7 separate regions of the Homo sapiens genome follow, and all the other regions are linked to region 5. Evidence: promoter capture Hi-C in 16 types of primary human blood cells and fetal thymus (Javierre and others, 2016). All regions are on one chromosome and are shown on one strand. The core of a region is centred on a gene start or on the middle of the fragment in contact, and the rest is flanking DNA. Distances in the headings are between cores, read along the strand shown. Region 1 overlaps HERC1 (HECT and RLD domain containing E3 ubiquitin protein ligase family member 1). Region 2 overlaps HERC1 (HECT and RLD domain containing E3 ubiquitin protein ligase family member 1). Region 3 overlaps HERC1 (HECT and RLD domain containing E3 ubiquitin protein ligase family member 1). Region 4 overlaps HERC1 (HECT and RLD domain containing E3 ubiquitin protein ligase family member 1). Region 5 holds the start of SNX22 (sorting nexin 22). Region 6 overlaps HERC1 (HECT and RLD domain containing E3 ubiquitin protein ligase family member 1). Region 7 overlaps HERC1 (HECT and RLD domain containing E3 ubiquitin protein ligase family member 1).

Region 1 (3,264 bases), core at 675-3,174, 420 kb before region 5:
TGACTGATTAAATTTGAAATGAAATACCAAACTCACCTCTTAATTTTTCTCCAACACTGCCATTCCAAGGACTTTCTTTGAGCAAATTTGCAGAACGTGAATAAATATCTGTGGCATGAGGCAACAAAAGCTGAAGATGTTTATGAAGCAATGCCACACTGCTTGAGTTCTAAGAAGAAAAAAAGTTCCTAAATTACTACTTTGAAAGATTCAAGGTGTAAAAATATCATGGCCTATCCAAATATCTGAGTTTCAAGGTCCCTGATAGATCACCATAAAAGACAAATAATCGCATACCTCACTAATGTTATTGATATGGCAAAATGCCAGCAGCTGTTTCTGTAGTGAACATAGCAGTTCATGAAGATGAGCAGGCTGACTGTTTTCTGATGATGATGTTCCAAGTAGAAATTTATCACTATTCTTTTCTAGCTCTCCAAATGCTTGATCCTAAAATGACACACAAAGGAAGTTTATATTTGAAGTGCTTGAAACTGAAAGTAACAACCTACCATAAATCTGATTTAAGCAGCATTATATGGGCTGGGTGCGGTGACTCACACCTGTAATCCCAGCACTTTGGGAGTCCGAGGCAGGTACATCACCTGAAGTCAGGAGGTTGAGACCAGCCTGGCCAACATGGTGAAACCCTGGTCTCTACTAAAAAATACAAAAATTAGCTAGGCGTGGTGGTGGGTGCCTGTAATCCCAGCTACCGGGGAGGCTGAGGCAGGAGAATTGCTTGAACCCCAGGAGGCAGAGGTTGCAGTGAGCCAAGATCACGCCATTGCACTCCAGCCTGGGCGACAAGAGTGAAACTATGTCTCAAAAAAAAAAAAAAAAAAAAAGCATTATATCCTTTCTCCCATTACCAATTTTTAAGTATTTGCTATAACCCTTATGATACTAGCTATTAGATGGTAAAATTCATCAAGCTACTTCTATTTGTTTTTTCCATTAAAAAAAAAAAAGCAGCTGGGTGCGGTAGCTCACACCTATAGTCCCAACACTTTGGGAGGCCGAGGTGGAAAGACTGCCTGAGGTCAGGAGTTCAAGACCAGCATGGGCAACACAGCAAGACTTCACCTCTAAAAAAATTTTTTTTTTTAATTAGCTGAGCATGGTGGTGCACACCTCTAGTCCCAGCTACTTGGGAGGCTGAGGTGGGAGGACCACTTGAGCCCAGGAGTTCGAAGCTGTAGTGAGCTATGATGGTGCCACTGCACTCCAGCCTGGGCAACAGAAAGCCTGTCTCTAATAAAATTAAAATTAAAATTAAAAAAGAGATATGACAACTAAATACAATGTGTGATTCTGGACAAGATCATGAAGAGGAAGGGCTGGGGTCAGAAACTGCTATAAAGGACATTATAGGGGCAACTGTAGAAATGTAAATGTAGACTATATATTAAATAACAGTTCTGTATCAATGTTAAATTTTGTGAATTCAATAATTATTCTCTTGTTACATAAGAAAATGTCCTGGTTTTTTAAAAATACATACTTAATATATGCTTAAATACTTAGCGGCAGCCAGCCATCTGCAATTTACTCTCAAATGATTTAGAGAGAGAGAACAAATTTGGCTGAAGAGCACAGGGGAATTCTTTGAATGATTCCTATAACTCCTCTGTGAGTTTTAAATTACTTCAAGTTAAAAATATTTTTTAAAAAGAGATGCTTTGTATATTTAGAAAATATCAAAACTCTATTTTAAAAAGTTAAAAGCACCATTTAAACAACTACTCAAAGAAAGTGACTGCTACTATAATATTTTTTGGTGTATTTCTTTCCTTTGTCCTTTTAAAATATTTTTCATAATATTGTACTGCATATTCTATTTTTGGTCTGCTCTTTTCCAATGGAATCATAAATGTTTTACACATTTTCATAAACCATGTGTATATAAAATATGATAAAATATTCCATTGAACACATGTACCATAAATTACTTAACCACTCCTCTATTTTTAGATGTTTCTGTTATTTCCAACTTTTTTTCCTGTAAATAATCATGTGCTGAATATCTTTAGGCAGAAAATTTGGTTTATGTGTACAATATACAAGACAATATGAGAACACTGTAGGGCCCTTGCTCTAAGTTGTTAATTAGGACCATTATTTTAAAATCTTAGAACAAATTTGGTTTAAATCACATCAGAAAGAGACAATAATTTATTATTTCTACCCAAAAGCAGTTAGTATTTTATTTCCATTTCCATATAATATATAAATCTGCCTTAGCCCTAATATTCCTTTCAACTTTGTTGTAACATTCCTTATAACTTTGGGAAAAATTTTTGGTCATTAACAAATGGCTATATACACAATATTGTTCTTATCCATTTGCAGCCATTACTCCTTAACATCAGATTAAATTTACATTTTTAAATCTGAAAGAAAAGAATTTTGTAGGAAGAATGTTCACTCTGACTTAGTGATCAGCCTTTCAATGTGGGCGGGATAGAGCACTAAGACTTGTATTGGAAGAAAAAGAGTACGTAGACCAGACCCTGAAGAGCCACAGGAAACAATATTAATTGATACACAAACAATTCAAAGTTAAGTTACACAGTACACTCTGATCCTGTAAGTGCTGATGAGTACAGAGATGTGTAGCTATATGCATCTCTGGCTAGATGGGGTTATTTGGGCAAGGTTTCCTAGAATAGTCAAGTCTTACATCACAGATTGGTAGAGAAAAACAACAGGAAATACGTGTACAATGTACAATTCTGGAAAAGGATGATTTCAGATAAGAATGGTGTGTGAGCCGATGATAAAGGGTCTGAAGGGTGGTGGTGGTGGTGGTGTTGTTTTGAGATGGGGTCTCGCTCTGTCACCCAGGCTGGAGTGCAGTGGTGCGACCTCAGCTCACTTCAGCCTCTGCTCCCTGGTTCAAGCAACTCTCCCACCTCGGCCTCCTGAGTAGCTGGGACTATAGATGCCAGCCGCCACGCCTGGCTAATTTTTGCATTTTTAGTAGAGACGGGGTTTCACCATATCGGCCAGGCTGGTCTCAAACTCCTGACCTCAGGTGATCCACCCAACTCGGCCTCCCAAAGTGCTGAGATTACAGGCATAAGACACCGCGCCTGGCCTGAAGGGGTTTTAATTTAATACAAAGAAGTTGTATTCTTTAATATAAAGAAGTTATTTAATACAAAGTTATTCCAGCAGTAAGATGCTGAGAAGAAACCAGCAATAGTGACAATAGCTATAACATTATTAGCACTGAATCATAATGATCTGGCTTAGAACTCA
Region 2 (3,167 bases), core at 146-2,645, 470 kb before region 5:
GTCATGAAGTTCAAATTCACACCATCTACAACACCTGAAAATTCCCCCAGCTGAATGAAAGGTAGTTTCCTCATGATGACTACAACTTCTATTATTCAGCTGATAGCATCTTATTACATTTAAAATTATTTCTAGATTTCTCTCTCATACCCATAATTGCCAGTGAATTAGATTATCCCTAAACTAGGTCTTGTAGTTCTTGTGACTGCACGTTTGAAAGTTGACTCACTGTATTCAAATTGCCAGAACATGAAATAGTGCCTTAATATTAATATATCGTAAAGTCAATTTCTGAAAGTAACCTTCTTCTAGAAGAATGGATTACCTAAGTCAAGTACTTTTAATGGCAGAAGAAATAGCTTATTATATTTATAAACTCTATCTGATGCTAAACAATAAAATAACAAATATTCTTAAATAAAGGTTTGAGACTTCATTACCTTTTCCCCTGGATTGCTACTATAGAACATCACACATGGGTACAACTCTGCTGCATCCACATCTTCAAAAGCTAATTTGGGTTCCTACAGTGTGGCAGCAGTGAGGAAAAGAAAAAGGAAATAGAAATTTTTTTAATTCACAATATCTAACCACATTAGAATTGAAAGCTTTTATGAGACAGAACAAAAGTTACTAGATCAAATTCTCAATTAACCTTGCTAACCGAGAAAATTCTACATATAATAAGTGATCATAATGTGTTCATCTGTTTCAAAAATCTTATTGGGGTTTTACTATCTTCCTGTTTGTTGTTAATAAATGTTTTAAGAACCAGAAAGTATTAGAGAGAAAGGAGAGACGAGCAGATAATCTATAAACTGAATACGTGGCACTTGAATAACCGAGTTGACTATAAATAGAAACAAGAAAAATGTAATGCTTGTGAATGGGTGTCGGTACCTCTCCATTTTTCCCAAAAGAAATGGTCCTGGCTTCCATGTCTAACACACAGGTAATGAAATCTCCTTGAGTAAAGCTGGACAATGTGAGAGTCTGTTCTCCATTGTGATAGAGGTTACCACTGTAGGCCCTATAGAGCCACATATCCGAGGTAGTGCGGTGATTAAAGTCATGTACTGGCCAGCGAGAAACTCCAACACACGTGCCTTCATTACCTCTGTTTTCCTTCACAATATAAAACTAAAATAAAAGTGGGATATTCATTAATACTCAAAAAATCTATTTATATACTATTAACTGCATTAACCAATACTGAAAATATGTTTATAAATAATACTAATGCATTTATGGAAACATGTTATTTTCAGCATAAATAAAAATAACACGAAAATAATCGCATCAATTTAGAAAGATTTTAAAACATTCTTTATCTTGCAGGGCATTTAGAATAACCTTTGAATATCTATAGTATTTAAAATAAGCAATTCTAACTTACAACTTAATAATGAAGCTGAGGAAGTATGTTTAGTCCAGAAATTAATGAAAACTTTAATTCTTTACATATAGATTTTAACTACTCTCTTGCATATACCTCTGTTTAGAAAAAGAGTTAATATATTAAGCCTGAGACTAGGTGTATTGTTTTGTTTTGTTTTGTTTTGTTTTGTTTTTAATTTTCTAAAGAGATGGGGTCTCACTCTGTTTCCCAGGCTGGAGTACAGTAGCATGATCATGGCTCACTGAAGCGTCAAATTCCTGGGCTCAAGCAATTCTCCTGCCTCAGTCTCCTGAGTAACTAGGACTACAGGTGTACACCATCATGCCTGGCTAGTTATTTTTTGTAGAGATGAGGTCTTGTTATGTTACACAGTCTGGTCTTGAACTCCTGGCCTCAAGCAATCCTCCCACCTCGGCCTCCCAAAGTGTTGGGATTATAGGCATCAGCCACTACACCTAGTGTGACTATTACTATTTTCAAAAAGGCATGCTTGCAACACTGGCCTTTGGCTAGGACCTGGGAATTTGACTGGTAAAGTTTCTTACACTGATTTAAAAAAAAAAAAACTTCCCCTACGTGATAAAGGTGGCTCACTGACCTAGAACATTTAAACACACAATGTGGTTTATGCTGAATACCTGCTCTCCTTCTGGGAGTATGAAATGTTGGTACATGTCAGGTTGAAGGTGTCTACGTGACCAGCCCCCAGTAAAAACCTTGGGTTCTGAATCTCTAATGGGGTTCTCTAGAAACATCACACACATGTTATTTTTCTTGCTGGGGAAAGCTTGTGCACTTGTGCTCATGGCAGGGAGAGAACAGAAGGAAGCCTACAGGATTCTTCTATACCTCACCTGTGTCCTTCCCTTATTAACTGGGTGTATATCCTTACCGCATCATTATAATATAAGTCTCCGTCATGAGTGTATCAACGTGTGGAGTCTGACGAGTCCTTCTAGTGAATCTCTGAATGTGAGGGTGGTCTTGGGGACTCATGACTTAGCAGTGGCAGCAATGAGATTCACTAGAACAACCCTGATGCATTAGAATATAGTTAAATATTGCTGGGGAAAAAGAAAGAGACGAAAGGAAAAGATAAAACTCTGGTACCTAGGTGGCTATGGAGTTACACATAGTATGAAACAGAAGGTGGACTGCTATCTGTTGTGAGGGGCAAAAGTTACCTATCAATTTTTAAGATAAATCCAATCACAAGAGAGTTGGTTTGCTACCCCAGACGCTCTTGGCCTTGCTAGCTAAAGTTAGGAAAAAAGAGCAGCTCAGGTAAAAACTGTGCTGTTCTTTCTTCCAGGAACAACTTCTTTCCTGAGGAGAAAGGGCCCAAATATTCCCACAAGTGGGCTTTAGATGAGCCAGAGTAGAAAAATTAGCTTGTAGTTGCTCTCTCCTCCAGTGGGAGGGGAAAGGGTTCAAAAACCCCTGACAGCTTTGAGTGTGGGTGCAGGGGCTCACACCTGTAATCTTAGCACTTTGGGAGGCTAAGGAGGGAGGACTGCTTGAAGCCAGGAGTTTGAGACTACCTTGGGCAAGAAAGCAAGAACCCCATCTCTACAAAATATACAAAAACAAACAAACAAGAATAGAAAGGAACTACTCCAGCTATTTTCTTAAGCTGAGCTTTTGCTATTGCTACAGCAGGTTCTCCCCCTGCCACAATTTACCTTGTAAATGCTAAATTTATTGCTAGAGGTTTGAGTAAACTTAAGATGTGAGAAGGGAGGAAGAAAACTTTTAAAAACAGCTTTAT
Region 3 (3,282 bases), core at 606-3,105, 450 kb before region 5:
ATATCTGCAATGAAACATTACCAAAAAATGAATATAGAAGGGCAAGTAAACTTACACAAAAAGCAGACACAAACATCACCCTTTGGGTTTCATTAATATAAGGAACATTCTCACTGACTGTGTCATGTGCATATTTACTGCAGGTTGTGAAACTCCTATATAGAGGAAGCAAAGTTTCACAGACAAGAATATGAGATTTACTGTAAAATGATACCTATATAAAATTATCAAGTGGCATCAAAATAGTTGCTAAATATAATACCATTAGATTTGCCAGTGGGTATTTTTTAAGCTAAAATCTTTACATTAGACAGCAAAATGTTAACATGTTTGAACATAACAGCAACTGTCCAAGTCATTTGTCAATATTAGCTTTAAATAAATATATAAATGTCCAATTCTTACAAATCTTTAATTTAACTGGTCTCAGATACATAAATTTGATTAACTACAATCCTTTCGTCATGACATACTCTCATCATTGGTCCATGCATGGCCCAATTTTGAAATCACATATTTATAATAAATATCTGTGAACACAAGAACTAGAAAACTAACAGTAACTTCTATCTATTTGCTCCTCCTCCAGCCCATCTCTTGCTACCTAAAGTTTTATTATCCTGAGGCCTGGGTTTATTATTTCCTTGTTTTTATTGTTTTAATGTATTCCTAAGATGAATAATGGTTTTAGTTGTCGTTGACTTTTAAAAAAGAGTATCATTTTATATCACCTTTTTGGACACACTCTTTCATTCAATATAATATTGCTAATATTCATCCACATTACTAAGTGTAACCATGGTTCATTTATTTGATTGCTGTATAACATCCTATTATGTGAATATACTACATTTCTCAATTAGGGAAGTATCTTAAGGTACCCAATTAAATATGCATAAAAATTATATCAGTTATGTAACTAGATAGAAAAGTTTGGGAAGATAACTACTTAAACACTAATGCCCACAGAGAAAACAAACTAACAACAATATTCAATGTAGAATCTTATTTTTGAATTACTATACTGGTGTCAATTAAACCCTAGGATTTCAAAATTCGTAACACGGAGCTAATATTACAAAGTAACTATGAAATAATTTATATGTATCCTAGTAAAATAATGTAGAATGGCAAAGAATATATGGTTTATCTGCCTTCTGTGTTTTAGAAAGAATTATTAAGATTTAAAAAGGCTTAATTTTCACCACTGCACTCCAGCCTGGGTGACAGGGCGAGACCCTGCCTCAAAAAAAAAAAAAAAAAAAAAAGCTTAATTTTCATTCTTGCTGAACATGAAAAATAACAACCTACCTAAAAATTTCCCCAAATTGTAGACCTGAATATTCTTTCATGTGACACAGAAAAAACTGAAAATTCAAAGAATAATATCATAGATGCATAATGTATTAAGTTAAAAATATTTAAAGAATAAAGTAGAGGCTAATGTAAAAAATATATACATTCTTTTTTCATTTCCTTAAAGCACCTCAAATTCAGAATCTGTATTTAGCCTTAACTTACAAATGATAGATTCTGGCTCCTCACATTGAACTTGTTTTTTGGGGGGGTGTTTTTTTTTAAATATTAAAATTTTAGAATAAAAGGTTCTTCTAGTTACTAATACTTATAAATTACTTTTCAAAATGAATATAAAATGCGCAAGGAACTGATATTAGAACTGCAGAAGAAAAAGAGACCTTAAAGATTATTTAGTCCAATTTTCACAAATGAGGAAACAGAGGCACAAAAAAATTGGTTTGTCACATAATGACATTAATTCCTTAATTTTATGGGAGGTAGTCTTACATATTCATTATTAACCAACTCACAAATCACTGATGGAAATTTCAATTGCCTGCCTATATAAAGGTTCAATTATGAATCTACCAATACTGAACTGTCTTCATATAAACCAAAATATTCTATGGAATGGCTGACGAAGCCCAAAATTAAATCTTCTGCAATTTAAAGCAGGGGTTGGCAAACTTTTTCTGTAAAGGGCCAGACAGTAAATATTTTAGGCTTTGCAGACCATAAGGTCTCTGTGACAACTACACAACTCTGCTGTTGTAGTATGAAAGCAACCACTTAAATAAATGAGTGTGGCTGTGTTCCAATAAAACCTGATAAAAATAGATGCCAGGTCAGTCTTGGCCTCCTAGCTGTAGTCTGCTGAGCCCTAACGGATGAAATTAACCCAAATGTAACTTTGTATAAATAAAATATTAAGAACAGGAAACACACTATGTGGAAGCATCAGGATAAATAATTTCCATCAAAATATTTAGTTTGACATCAAAAAGACTTAAAACACAAAAATTTATAATATGGAAATGGGAGAGGAAAGAACTTTAATTTTTTTTTTAAGTATAACAATCTGATAACTTTGGTTTGCTCTGTACTATCTGAATACAGGAAATATTATATCTGAAAAGGGCATTAAAAGCTTCTACATAACAATTGAGACTAAGCCCAATTCTTAATACTAATTCAGAATCACCTACTATATAAAGAAAATACAAAATCCAACAAAAAATTTTTGAGATTGTTTACTTGTCCTTACAAGTTTGGTTTTTAAATGGAATTTTCAAAATGAACATGGCAGAGCTGCAATACATACTTTATAAACCATAAAATATGTAGGCAAGCTAAAAGGGGAAAAAAATTAAACATGCCATCATGTACTTGCTTGAAGCTCTTCTTTTTTCTGGGGCTCAACTGGCCAAAAAGGAGTAAATACACTACCACACGAGAATCAGAAAACAAAAGGAGAAATTTGATACAGGAGAGAAACATTTACATTCGCTTTTCTTTATATCATCTAATTTGAAATGCACAGACAAAATAGCATTTCACCCATACATGTTATACCATGAAACACACATGTTGATAAATGTTTCCAGTATTATTTTAGCAATAAAACCCTATCAAAATATTTAAAGATTAGGGGCGATAATCAAACCACACAGTATTTTAACTAATAAGATTTCTGATGCTGCTTAAGTTGCTGTTTTGATATCCCACAACTTTTCACTGTATCATCTTCAGCTTAAATATGAAAACTAAAATCAAGTATCTGCAAAAACGTATTGTCTTTCTGTAAACAATCGTACAACCATAGCAAATCTTTTAAGTTTTATCAAAGTACCAAATTACTAACATATTTTTACAGGTTTTGTCAAGAATTTTATCAGGCTGTTATGAAAATTAAATGAGTTACTATAATATTTGTGAAGGGCTTAGAACAATGCTCATATAGTAAGTAGTTTATAAATGTTTACT
Region 4 (3,067 bases), core at 173-2,672, 400 kb before region 5:
GTGGTGTCCTTGGCAGGGGGAATGATCAGTGGAGCCTTCTATTCCACCATCTTGCTCTGCCTCTCAATTTCCCTTTTGATTTCTGTAGGGTCAGTAGTAATATCTTGTCTTTCATTCCTGATTTGAGTAATTTAAGTCCTCTCTCATTTTTCTTGGTCAGTCCAGCCAGAGGTTTGTTGATTTTGTCTTTTCAAAGAACAAACATTTAGTTTCCTGGATCTCCTCAATTGTTTTTCTGTTCTTTATTTTTTTAATTTCACTCTAATCTACATTAGTTCCTTTTTTCTACTTGCTTTGGGTTGAGTTGACTCTTCTTTTTCTAATTTCTTAAGGTAGAAGGTTAAATTACTGATTCGATATATATTTTTTTTAATATAGATGTTTATAAGCTATAAATTTTCCTCCAAGCACAGCTTTAGCTGCATTTCATGAGTTTTGGTATGTTAAGTTTTTGTTTTCATTAATCTTAAGTATTAAATTTATCTTGTAATTTCTTTCTTTGATCCACTGATAATTTAGGAGTGCACTGGTTTAAAAATTACTGTACTTTCTATTATTACCTACCAAAAGAGTTTATTTTCTGTATTTTGTATTACAAATATATAGATATTTTTAAGTTTCCCCCAAATTTAACATTGTATTATAATACTAAATATGTTTTTTTAAACTATACTCTCCTTATTTATAACCAGTATTCTATTCTAGGCCACTTCTTCCTCCTTAAGCTGACCTTTCTCTCCTTAGCTCTGGTTACAGTTCTAGTAGATGATCCAGTCCACTTATTCAGTTACTACTACTGACCAAGCCATGCCCTAGGTCCTTGCCCTCAGGAACTCATCTTCTGGTGAAAAAAGAGTGACATGTTTGTAAATAAGCAACTAGAATACAATGTGATGTAATGAGAACATATACAAGAAAAACCAAATCTGGTGGGAGAGCAGGAATAAAAAGTTTATCAGAGATGGCATCTGACCTTTGTCTCAAGGATGAGTTAACCAAAAATACTCTCACCAAGAAAACAGGAGTAAGGGAAACAACATCCAATTGAAATTGTCCAATGTACAGTTGAATATATTGTATAGCTAAAATCTCAGAGAAAGACGTGGTTTGAGATACAGATTCACAAGTCCTATTCTCTTACCTCTTGGATTTCATCTGGGACAGTTGAGTCCATCAGTCTGAAGAGCAAATTTCGAAGTGGACCTGCCTGCCTCCCGAGAATGCTGGTAGCTACCCCTCCCGCAAGTGCAAGAGCAAGGTGATTTGAAAGTAGCTTCAGGCACAGCTTGAGAAAACTGTGGTGTTCTCTGAAACCAAATAAACGTCTATGAATTCTCGGATCATAAAAGTGCCTGTGCTATCCAGTTTGGGTAACATTTTTATATCTTTAAAAATTTTGTTGGCTAGGTGCGGTGGCTCATGCCTGTAATCCCAGCACTTTGGGAGGCGGAGGTGGGTGGATCACCTGAAGTCAGGAGTTAGAGACTAGCCTGGCCAACATGGCAAAACCCCGCCTCTACTAAAAATACAAAAATTAGCTGGGCATGATGGCGGGTGCCTGTAATCCCAGCTACTCAGAAGGCTGAGGCAAGAGAATCACTTGAACCTGGGAGGCAGAGGCTGCAGTGAACTGAGATCATGCCACTGCACTCTAGCCTGGGCGACAGAGCAAGACACCATCTTAAAAAAAAAAAAATTTTGTCAAGTCATGAACAACAGTAATTTTTAAAACATGATTTGTGAAATTACAAGTAACTTTTTCCTAGAAGTTATTATCAACAAGTATCTAAGTTTAGCTCTTTTCTAGATTATAAAAAAGTTTCATATAATTTGGGAAACCAAACAAGAAAGAACAGTAAGTCAAAACTCAAAAGGAATAATTTATACACATGCACACACGCGCGCGCACACACACACACAAAGATACAAAACATACATATAACATACCTTGATGAAGGGAAAGGGAGTGGGGGAATCTCACTGTTTATTTTATCACAGTATCTCTCAAGAAAAGAACGCAGGTGTGAGAAGGTACTCTCTTCAAGATCTACACAATAAGGTCGGTGCCATGCAACAACTTGTCTAGAAGGACACATAAGAAAATAATAAAACAGTCTTAAAATGAAATTTTTATGCACGATCAAAAACGAAAATTAAAACATATATTGGCTGGGCACGGTGGCTCATGCCTGTAATCCTAGCACTTTGGGAGGCCAAGGAATGCAGATTACCTGAGGTGAGGAGTTCAAGACCAGCCTGGCCAACATGGTGAAAACCCATCTCTACTAAAAACATAAAAATTAGTCGGGCATGGTGGTATATGCCTGTAGTCCCAGTTACCCAGGAGGCTAAGGCAGGGGAATCGCTTGAACCTGGGAAGCAGACACTGCAGTGAGCAGAGACTGTATCACTGCACTCCAGCCTGGGCGACAGAGTGAGACTCCATCTCAAAAAATATATATATACATATATACATTAAAGCTGAATGAGTTCAACAAGATACAAAGAAGACATTACTGATTATGAAAGTGATAAAACCTTTCATTTTAGCAACTAAGGAAAACCAAGAATTTGCCATCTTTAAGAAGAAAACATACAACCACCACCTGTTTTGGAAGGTTTGGATGTCCACTCACCTGAAAGCAGAGGGCTGAGTCACATGATCTACTAAAGCCCCTCTGGTTCTAAGAGTCCAGAAAATATATATTTCATATTAAGAAAAATATCCTGACTCTATAGAGTGATATACTGAAATCTATTAAAAGACAAAATCCTGAAATTTCTTGTTAATACTTTTCAGTTCTTGGGACCCAACTATCTACATATGAAGTGGGAAGTTGGAGATGTAATGCTAATAGCAAATTATTTATATTCAACTTATTTATTTTGGCTTTTGTGTTAGAGGAATAACTATTGATAAATATTTTTAATTGGTTAGAGTATCATTTTAAAACCCTGAGTCAAAGGCATAGAATGCAAATAAAATACATTCTAAGCTATAAATTAGCCCATGTGTATCTGAAAATATCTGAAATAACCCAAACATTCTTTAAAATTCAATCTCCTA
Region 5 (3,419 bases), core at 254-2,753:
CCAGCTCAGAGGCGTCTCTGCAGAAGCAGGGGAGGGGTGAGTCCCCTCAACCCCAGCCCCGAAGACAGGCACTCTGCTTCCTCCTGCCCACCCCAAGACCTCCCACTACGTATGAGCTTTGGAAGGCAGGGCCTCGCCTCTCTGCATGTCACGGGGCCTTTGTGGGGGAAGTCAGTGGAGTAGAGGACCTGCCATGGTGCTGCTGATAGCAGCTCTCCGACAGCTGAAGGGTGCAGGGCTGAGAGGTGGGAGCAGAGGTCCTTTCCAGCACATGGCCTGAGAGAGTTCTGGATCAAAATCCTGCCACATATCCAGGAAGAACCTGCCCGGAGGGGTGGACAAGAGCAACCCGGTGCCACCCCCCAAAGTCTCTCTTCCCATCCACTGCCCTGTGCCCACTTATCCTAGTCATCCAGGAGAAGCCCACAGTCAAGCTGCTGCTCAATGCTTCTGTTAAGGGCCTAACATGAATCATCTCACTTTTTTTTTTTTTTAAGACAGAGTCTTGCTGTTGCCCAGTCTGGAGTGCAATGGTTTGATCTCGGCTCACTGCAACCTCCGCCTCTCAGGTTCAAGTGATTCTCCCGCCTCAGCCTCCTGAGTAGCTGGGATTACAGGCATGTGCCACCACACCTGGTTGATTTTTGTATTTTTAGTAGGTACGGGGTTTCACCATGTTGGTCAGGCTGGTCTCGAACTCCTGACCTCAGGTGATCCGCCTACCTCGGCCTCCCAAAGTGCTGGGATTACAGGCGTGAGCCACCGCGCCCGGCCAAATCATCTCACTTTATACACTTGCCTGAAGGAGCCACGTTATCCCTATTTTGCAGATGAGCAAAGGTCTACGGAGCTCCTGAAATCCAGGCAGTCTGACGTCCAAATCGGAGTCTAGGTCCCTAAACTGCCTCTTCCCCACAAACAGCCTGGAGCCCCTTAGGGTTGGAAGATATGAGTGAATGGATGGATGAAAACAATGAATGAATGGGGGGGCCTGTGGATGCTGGGGAAAGGGGCATCAAAGCTGGACTGGGTCCAAGCCTTGCTCAGGTGTGGCCTCAGCCGGGGAATCCAGATCACAATTTCAGGGACCAGGCTGAAAGGAGGGAAAGGCTCGGGAAGGGACTGAGGAACCCAAGACAGGTCCCTGGTTGGCCCCAGGACCGGCGCTGAGGCCCGGGCCCCGCCTCCGTCCGCGCCTGGAGCCACAGGCCGTCCTTGGTAGGCGCTTAACTCAGGTTGGGTGACATTTTCGCTCGCCAGTTCCTGGCATCAGTGAGTGCTCCGTCAATGTTTGACAAACGGTTGACTCCACTGCCCCGCGCTGTGGGCGCACTAGACTTCGGGGGCGGCGTCCAGGTCCCGCCTAATCTTCTAGGCTCAGGACCCGCGGCGCAAGGGAACGCCCGGGGCGGGGTCGCCTGGGGGCGGGGCCTGGGGTGGGGCCTGCGGACCGAGGGGGCGGAGCCGGCCGCCCCGGGGTCCTCAGTCCGCTCCGGGAGAGTTAGGGCTCCGAGCCGAGCGCGCGGAGCAGCTGGGGCCGGGGCGCGGATGCTGGAAGTTCACATCCCGTCGGTGGGGCCCGAGGCCGAGGGGCCCAGGCAGAGCCCGGAGAAAAGCCACATGGTGAGCGCGGCCCCTGGATGGGGAGGGGCGCCGGGACCCGCAGGATTTCCCCGCGCTGCGCTCAGTGGGGACCCGGGGCCCGGGCCTGGGTGAACGAGCGCTGCGGGCTGGACCGTCGGGGGAAACCTTGTCGAGGGTTTGGGGGCCGCTTGGATTTGCCAGCCTCGCGGACCATGGTTCGAGCTCTTGAGGGACCCCAGGGCTCCGAGGGGCAGGTCCGCCAGCCGGTTCTCCCAGGTGTGCGGGAGCGGAGAGTCCCCGGGCAGCCGCGGCGCCGCAAGGCCGCTTTGTGCCTTTGAGAGCGGGAGGGTGGGCACGTCGCCAGGCGCAGGTGCTGCGGCGTCCTCCCGCGGGGCCTCACGCGCAGACCCGCTGCCCGCCCGCGCCGCCAGGTGTTCCGAGTGGAGGTGCTGTGCAGCGGGCGCAGACACACGGTGCCAAGGCGCTACAGCGAGTTCCACGCGCTGCACAAGCGGGTGAGGCGGCGCCGACCTCCCACCGGCCCCGGCCCAGCCTCTGTCCAGCCCCCGCCCAGGCCCTGTGAGGCGGGCGGGCGAGCCCCAGCCTCCGCCACCCCCATTACTGCCTCAGTCCCTGCGCAGCCGGTCAGCCCCCGGGCCTCTGTGGGTGGGTTGGGGCCTTCCTCGCCCTCGGCCGGTCCACCACTCACCAGGGTCTGTCCCAGTAGAGCCCGAAGGCGGGGGCGCGGGAGGGCTTCTGGCTGGGGCGAAGAGGGCTTGAGGGCTCAGTCGGGATGCTGTGATCGCACGCGGTAAACCTCCAGTAGATCAAGAAGCTGTACAAAGTGCCCGACTTCCCCTCGAAACGCCTGCCCAACTGGAGGACCAGAGGGTTGGAACAGCGCCGGCAGGGCTTGGAGGCTTACATCCAGGTATGCGAGAGCACAGTTGGTTGCCCCCCGGCCTTCTGTGCCAGGGGTGTGGCCCAGACAGAGAGGTGTGGGGGCATGGCAGGGAGGGAACCCACAACTTGGGGATGTTATTCACCACCTCAAGCATCAATTTTCTGAGTCTAATATAGGTCCAAACACCCCCCTCTGGCTTGTTGAAAGGACTGAAAGAGGTAACGGACACAGGTAGTCCCAGCTCCATGAAACCCAGGTCCTGTCCCCTCCATGGTGAGGTCCTGTGCTGCCCTCCTGATGGCATGTAGGGTGAGGGTCCTTCCCCCAACAGCAAAGCTATGCCGCGTCATGGGGTACAACCTGTGCACACAGCGCCCAGCGCCCAGAAGGGCCCTGAGCCTGGTTCAACGCTCTGCTGTCATTGTCGTGAAATTCTTTTTTTGGAACAAAGAGCCCTGCATTTTCACTGGCACTGCGCTATGCAAATTAGTAGCTGGGTCTGATTGCAGGTCTCCTCTGTCCTCTCCAGGGCATCCTGTACCTGAACCAGGAGGTGCCCAAGGAGTTACTGGAATTCCTGAGACTTCGGCACTTCCCCACAGACCCCAAGGCTAGCAACTGGGGGTAAGGGGGGCCGATGGCGGGGGCCAGGGGCTGTCAGCAGTGAGCAGGTGAGGAAAGGTGTTGGAGGGCAAGCCCTTTCTTTTCACATCTGCCAGGATCCAGCATGACCGCCCTCACCAGCTCTCTTGACCTGGGTGGAGGGGCTTTTTTTTGGACAGACTTGGTTACCCCCGCCACCTCCGGAACTGGGGCTTGTTACAAATAGAAGCAGTGGTCCCCTGGGAGGTGCAGTTCTGGGCTCTGGTGTCTCCACCCCTTCCTCACGCTCCCCCGGCATCCCCAGGCAGCTTACAGTGTTTCTCTTCTC
Region 6 (2,944 bases), core at 219-2,718, 490 kb before region 5:
CGTGTGTTTCCTCTCTTGCAAAAGGGGATAATAATAGCACTCATATCTCACTGGGTTATTGATAGGTTTAAGTAAGAGAATCCATGCGATGCTTTATAATGTTTTTGTTGCTGTTTTTAGAGACAGGATCTGGATCTGTCACTCAAGCTGGAGTGCAATGGCACAATCCCAGCTCACTGTAACCCTGAACCCCTGGGCTCAAGACATCCTCCTGTCTCAGCCTCTGAGTAGCTAGGACTACAGGCACATGCCACCATACCCAGCTAACCGTTTTTTAATTTTTTTGTAAAGACAGGGTCTTGCTATGTGGCCCAGGCTGGTCTCAAACTCCTAGCCTCAAGTGATTTCTCCTGCCTCCACCTCCCAAAGTGCTGGGATTATAGGCATGAGCCACTGATATAATGTTAATCATATAGAAAAAAACTTCAATAAATATTGGCTATTACTATTCTTTTAGGTTTTAAAAAAAATCAGTTACCTTAATTATATGAGAAATATACAGTTCTCTCACTGTTCCTGTAAATTACTGAATCATTACTCATGTTATAGTATTTCAGTGATCAAATTCTGTTTTGACAAATCACATATTCAAGTTTTTGGTTTGGAAAATATATTCCCTATAATTTATATTTTACATGCCCAGAACGTAATCCTAGAATTTACTAATGTAATGAGGGAATCTGGTCCTTATCTAGCAGTGAAGCCCTAACAACCACAGAGCAGTACATCAGAAAAGCCAGGGCCTACTTTTTTGGCACAGTGCCCTTTCCAGCTCCTTCTTACCACTGATGCTAAACATTAAACATGCATCATCACTTCTTAAATTATAATTGACTGAGAGCAGAAGGAAGAGCATTTATATAATTTCTCAAAATCTACAAGTGGCCAGTATAGACTTCTGCACCCAGGGAAACTTAAAAATAAGCCTATGAATGTATGCTACGATTTAAATAAAATTATGTAAATGCATAGAAAATGATATCCAAATAGCTGTTCTGTTAATGTGGAGGGACTGAGCACTTAGTATCATTAGTTTGAATCTTCTTTAATGTGCCTTTACATTGCTTTCAAAATAAGATCTTTCACAAAGAAAAGGATACGGAACATAAAATTACCTGCTCTTGCTAGCAGTGTGCGAGCAGCTAAGTCAAACTTGTGTCTTCTTGTTACCGCTGAGCGACCTCTAGCTGATGGTCCACTTCCAGAAGCTGCATTCTCTGTATGATCCAAATTATCAGGGCTACAAGTGCAAGTGAGAAAGCAACACAAAGTTTTTGAAACCATTATGGAAAGAAAGCATAGGTGTAAGCTTACTTGTAGTACTACTTTATTCTCATTGAGAATAAAATATGTTTATGATAAAATTTGAAACACATCTTTATCCCTTGAACAGTTCAATTATGCATATAACATTTCCTGTGACCTGAGCAATAACTTTGTCTGATTTTGAATTCTTCCAACAACAAAATGATGTTTAATGAAGCTCAAATTTAAATGAGATCAAATATGACCTTAACTAAATCCTAAAAGATTAAATACTTAAAATTTGAAATGATTGAGAATTCTTGCCTAGGAAAAACAGGTATTTTGAAATACGTTATGAAAATATTCACTGAGCTTGTTGGAAAAAGCTTGCATGCCATCTAGGACACAAGCCTTGGTTACTATATGGCTCCATAGTTAAAATGAAAAATAAAGATTTAAAGTCATAAGAAGTGATGAAGGAAAAAAGATTTTAGGGAGAATTTGTAAGATATTCTATACATCTCATTTTAGGATAGGCATTATCACAGCAATCTTTTTACACTTAAAGGGGCATCTTCTACTAGATATTAAAAACTATAGAAGAGATGAAAATATAAATATTACACAGAGAAGACTTAAAAGTTCAATTCTAGGCCAGGAACGGTGGCTCATGCCTGTAATCCCAGCACTTTGGAAGACCAAGGTGGGTGGATCACGAAGTCTGGAGTTCGAGACCGTCCTGGCCAACATGGTGAAACCCTGTCTCTACTAAAAATACAAAAAATGAGCCGGGCATGGTGGCACATGCCTATAGTCCCAGCTACTTGGGAGGCTGAGGCAGGGAACTGCTTGAACCGGGGAGGCGGAGGTTGCTGCAGTGAGCCGATATCGCGCCACTGCACTCCAGCCTGGCGACAGAGCGAGACTCCGTCTCAGAAAAAAAAAAGTTCAATTCTATCAAATACATTAAATCAATGTCCAATATTAAAATGAATACTCGATTTTATATCACTTGTACGAGATAAAATTATTTTATTAGCATGTTTACTTCAAAATAAACTTGTTTCCTTTTTCAGTACAATTTTACACAAAAATTATGAAATTTCTTCTGGCATGAAAACACCTACTCAAATCAAAACTTGTCATGTCACTTTTACCCTTCACAGAAATATAAACTTGTAACTAAAATGCCCATCTTTTCATATAACTATATTTATCAACTTTACATACAATTAGAAGCATTTATGACGGGATATATAATAAATGGGGCTTTGAAATTTATAACACATGGAACAAAAGTACAGAAACTGGAATTTCACCTTTCACTAAAACCTTCCTCCATTTCAGCAGCATCAGCTGATGGTATGTCTCCAGGTGACTGCAAATAACAGGGATCATTTGACTTCCCGCCACTGCCTAGAACGGCTGCTCCAGGCCTAGAGTCTGCTGTGCTGCCCGACTGGGGCTCCTCTTCATCCTCATGCCCAGGGTGCTCTATCATCCACATGGCAAGGACAGTGATATTCTGGGCATCAGCCTCTCCCCTAGCACCTATACAGGGGAAAAACAGTCTGATGCTGACTTTGGGCAAAGAATTAGGTCTTTATGTTATAAGAGTGTTTGCTATGATGCTCTTGTAACAAAATATAGTGTTAAAAATCTTACCAAGTTTCATAGCCTCTTAAAAGTTATGTTGTCT
Region 7 (2,989 bases), core at 397-2,896, 510 kb before region 5:
TCATGCCACATAATAAATTTGTTTAAATAAAAAATAATGCTATCACCATTTAATCTGCGAAATTCCTTCTAGTAACTGGGACATCTTTGCTTTTTGGATATTTTATATCCAAAAAGGCTATGCTTTTAATGCCTATGGAACTTCAAAATATCCTAAATTTTGTCTAAGTAAAAAATAATGAGAAATAATAAAATTTGTGAACTACCTCTGATTAGCTGGTACTTTTTAAGGAAAAAATGTCAATAATTAACTATTTCTTCAGAACCTGCAGAATAAGGCATCTACTATATTTCAAAAGTCATGTCTGACATGACTACAAGGATAGCTGCAAAAGAGGTAGCACTGCTTTAACTCTGGCTCTGTGGTTTATTCTACACAGGCCACTACTGCCTAGGGTCTGATTCTACATTTTACTTGCAGTAGAACCTTTCATGAAGGTTTACAGCTTATTTTAACATCATTTAACCATATAAAATGTAAATCAAATCAGCACATCGGCTCTAATCTTTAAGGGTATGAAAAATAATACTGTAGGGAATAATGTTATATCATAGAATTACTTCACAGCAGGGGACCAGCAGTTTTACTAGAATATTAAATTTGAAAGCCAAGATATATTTTGTATACTTAGTTAAATGTCTTTGCAATGCTTCTCCTTTTCAAGGAAAAATTGTTTGAGAGAGTTTTTTTTTCCTTTGGGATGGGCTCTCACTCTGTCACCCAGGTTGGAGTACAATGGCGCAGTCTCGGCTCACTGCAACCTCTGCCTCCTGGGTTCAACCAATTCTCCCGCCTCAGCCTTCCAAGTAGCTGAGACTATAGGCATGTGCCACCACGCCTGGCTAATTTTTGTATTTTTAGTAGAGATGGGGTTTCACCATGTTGGCCAAGCTGGTCTTGAACTCAGGACCTTGAGCAATCTGCCCACCTCAGCCTCCCCAAAGTGCTGGGATTACAGGCATGAGCCACTGCACCTGGCCTTGAGATAGTTTAGTGCTACTGTCAAAAATCATGGCAGAAAGTCAAAATCTACTTTATCACTTCCAATGGAAATGAAATTGTTCAATATCTAAGCACTGTCACCAAAGTATGGGGTGTAGTAGAAAAAACACTAGACTATAAATCAGGAGACTTAGGTTCTAATTCTCCTTCTGCTACTAAATAGTTGCACTGTTTTGGACAAGTAGTAATCCCTCTGGACATCAGGTTTCTCCTCCATAAAGTGGGGTGGTTAGACTATGATTTCTAAAGTTCCTTACAAGCTTACACCCTATCATTTGATATAACTACAATATTACCTTTGATCTATTTGAGCAAGCAGCTACTCCAACTTCTGGAATCCATACTGTGGTCTGAATAGCTCCAGAGCCTATCACAACAGTTTGCAAGACAGAGCCATCCTAAAATGAGATATATTTACCAATACACACCATTGAACTGTAGGTATAATTTACATTTAAATTTCTATTTCACATTGACAAAAACATATTCTAAAGTCTACATTTTAGCTAAATTCAGCAACGTCCAATCACATACCTACTACAAAATTTTCTAGGACACAGCTGATTTTAAAAACACTTATCATCAGTAAGAAAAATGTAAGGGCAGAGGATTCTGAAAGAAGTTTCCTCAGTATTCAAGAGATTACTATATAAAATGTTTCTACAATTGGTTAATTTTTATCACATGTGTTTAAGTTAGTGTCAAAATATTCCTTAACATAAAAATAAAATCTATGCTCTTACCCTTAAAGACCAAATGTTCATGAGCCCACCTAGTCCACCAGACACCAGGGCCAACCCATCAGAACTAAAGGCAACAGTCCGAACAGGAGTGATGTGTCCCCGCAGCTGATAAACACACTTGGCTCCTGATGATTTCCTATATCCATCCTGAAATTCATTATTTTTAACATGCATTAAAATAAAGATAAATTATATAAGTTCAAGATTTATCATTCACTCTTGGAAATTTTATATTTCAGAATAAAATTGGCAAGGGGGAGAGATAATTTCTCTCATAAAGGATAGTAAGCTTGACTGAATCAGTAATAAAATATCAATCTGATTCCCTTTGTTGAAGCTTTCATCTTTTTTAAAAAATATATTTCTAAACTAGTTTTCTACTCTTCAAACTACAGAAATAACATCTCAAAGTTCTAATTATCCCTCAGAGACAGGAAAATACTGACTACTTTTTAACCAGTGTTTTGATTTTTAAATTTTCACTTCATGTAATTTTCATTTTTATCCCCTAACATTTGTGAACTGCACATGCTGACTCTATATAAATAGATTCCTCTTTTTGTTGGCTAATGGTTCTGTCTGTCACACATTTGTTCTGCAAGCTTTAGAAGTGACATAGGTAAGGCCTGTCTATAGGGCTGCCCTCCAGCACAAAGAGTAAACCAGACCTATCTGTAGTACTCCCACCTCCACTGCTGTGATATTCTCCTATTAGTGAGTTGGCTACTCCTTCCCTCCCTCTCCACCCTTTCTCCCCATCCTTAAGCTCCTTCTTCCTTTTAGTTATGACAACATAATACTATATGTATTCACTACCCAAAGATGATGTAAAGTGTATTTCTTCCAAGGGTATCATGAGCAAAAGGAAGGCAACAGAATGTACAAACTGGTAGCTCAGAGATGCGATCTGACTGGCCACTCAGTGTTTTAAACAATTTTAAGTTAGGTGCCAATGTTTAATATTGGGAGATTTTACTTAAACATTGGATTCTTAGCATCTATAGAAAAAATAAAACAATCTGGTAACAACAGGCTCTTAATTCTAGAAACTGACAATCAGCTGTGTGCCTTTATATAAAGCATGTAAGCTTCTTTGTTTTTTTTTTCTGTTTTTGCTTTTTACCCTCTCCAAACCTTCTAACCCTAGCTTCATGAATTTATGTTACTCGCCTAGAGGGCTCTCTATAAATATATACATTTGTAACTTCTGTTTAATATAAATAAATCATTCTTCATAGCAAGGA

Evidence for each region. The method cuts DNA at HindIII sites, captures the fragments that hold promoters and counts their contacts. A CHiCAGO score of 5 or more calls a contact.
Region 1: a contact is called between a fragment that was not itself captured here and the fragment with the promoter of SNX22 in region 5, in 1 of 17 cell types (M2 macrophages). The highest score is 6.2, in M2 macrophages.
Region 2: a fragment that was not itself captured here is called in contact with the fragment with the promoter of SNX22 in region 5 in 6 of 17 cell types (M2 macrophages, naive B cells, M0 macrophages and 3 more); the score reaches 7.1 in M2 macrophages.
Region 3: a fragment that was not itself captured here is called in contact with the fragment with the promoter of SNX22 in region 5 in 1 of 17 cell types (M2 macrophages); the score reaches 6.8 in M2 macrophages.
Region 4: a fragment that was not itself captured here is called in contact with the fragment with the promoter of SNX22 in region 5 in 1 of 17 cell types (M2 macrophages); the score reaches 6.2 in M2 macrophages.
Region 6: a fragment that was not itself captured here is called in contact with the fragment with the promoter of SNX22 in region 5 in 1 of 17 cell types (M2 macrophages); the score reaches 5.0 in M2 macrophages.
Region 7: a contact is called between a fragment that was not itself captured here and the fragment with the promoter of SNX22 in region 5, in 3 of 17 cell types (M2 macrophages, naive B cells and M1 macrophages). The highest score is 6.4, in M2 macrophages.

The regions. Positions count from the first base shown.
Region 1 is chr15:63,729,200-63,732,463 of GRCh38, forward strand. It overlaps HERC1 (HECT and RLD domain containing E3 ubiquitin protein ligase family member 1), which reads right to left. Exons shown (of 78, transcript NM_003922.4): 15 at 298-450; 16 at 37-169. Among named protein-coding and RNA genes, the nearest start is that of HERC1, 100 kb to the right of the region's middle. The HindIII fragment of the contact is 7,228 bases long and covers 1-3,264 here.
Region 2 is chr15:63,679,637-63,682,803 of GRCh38, forward strand. HERC1 (HECT and RLD domain containing E3 ubiquitin protein ligase family member 1) reads right to left here. Exons shown (of 78, transcript NM_003922.4): 35 at 901-1,140; 36 at 441-524. Among named protein-coding and RNA genes, the nearest start is that of USP3-AS1, 80 kb to the left of the region's middle. The HindIII fragment of the contact is 1,578 bases long and covers 607-2,184 here.
Region 3 is chr15:63,699,463-63,702,744 of GRCh38, forward strand. All of the region lies in intron 25 of HERC1 (HECT and RLD domain containing E3 ubiquitin protein ligase family member 1), which reads right to left. Among named protein-coding and RNA genes, the nearest start is that of USP3-AS1, 100 kb to the left of the region's middle. The HindIII fragment of the contact is 1,177 bases long and covers 1,268-2,444 here.
Region 4 is chr15:63,745,777-63,748,843 of GRCh38, forward strand. It overlaps HERC1 (HECT and RLD domain containing E3 ubiquitin protein ligase family member 1), which reads right to left. Exons shown (of 78, transcript NM_003922.4): 11 at 1,948-2,082; 12 at 1,142-1,307. Among named protein-coding and RNA genes, the nearest start is that of HERC1, 87 kb to the right of the region's middle. The HindIII fragment of the contact is 5,044 bases long and covers 1-3,067 here.
Region 5 is chr15:64,150,228-64,153,646 of GRCh38, forward strand. SNX22 (sorting nexin 22) reads left to right here and starts at 1,504. Exons shown (of 7, transcript NM_024798.3): 1 at 1,504-1,623; 2 at 2,016-2,099; 3 at 2,411-2,515; 4 at 3,018-3,112. The coding sequence starts at 1,549. RefSeq lists enhancers at 163-272, 3,200-3,419 and silencers at 1,190-1,629, 1,830-2,209. The HindIII fragment of the contact is 12,291 bases long and covers 1-3,419 here.
Region 6 is chr15:63,663,355-63,666,298 of GRCh38, forward strand. HERC1 (HECT and RLD domain containing E3 ubiquitin protein ligase family member 1) reads right to left here. Exons shown (of 78, transcript NM_003922.4): 42 at 2,565-2,796; 43 at 1,116-1,240. Among named protein-coding and RNA genes, the nearest start is that of USP3-AS1, 64 kb to the left of the region's middle. RefSeq lists a silencer at 2,634-2,804. The HindIII fragment of the contact is 322 bases long and covers 1,308-1,629 here.
Region 7 is chr15:63,641,659-63,644,647 of GRCh38, forward strand. HERC1 (HECT and RLD domain containing E3 ubiquitin protein ligase family member 1) reads right to left here. Exons shown (of 78, transcript NM_003922.4): 58 at 1,746-1,892; 59 at 1,299-1,400. Among named protein-coding and RNA genes, the nearest start is that of USP3-AS1, 42 kb to the left of the region's middle. The HindIII fragment of the contact is 772 bases long and covers 1,261-2,032 here.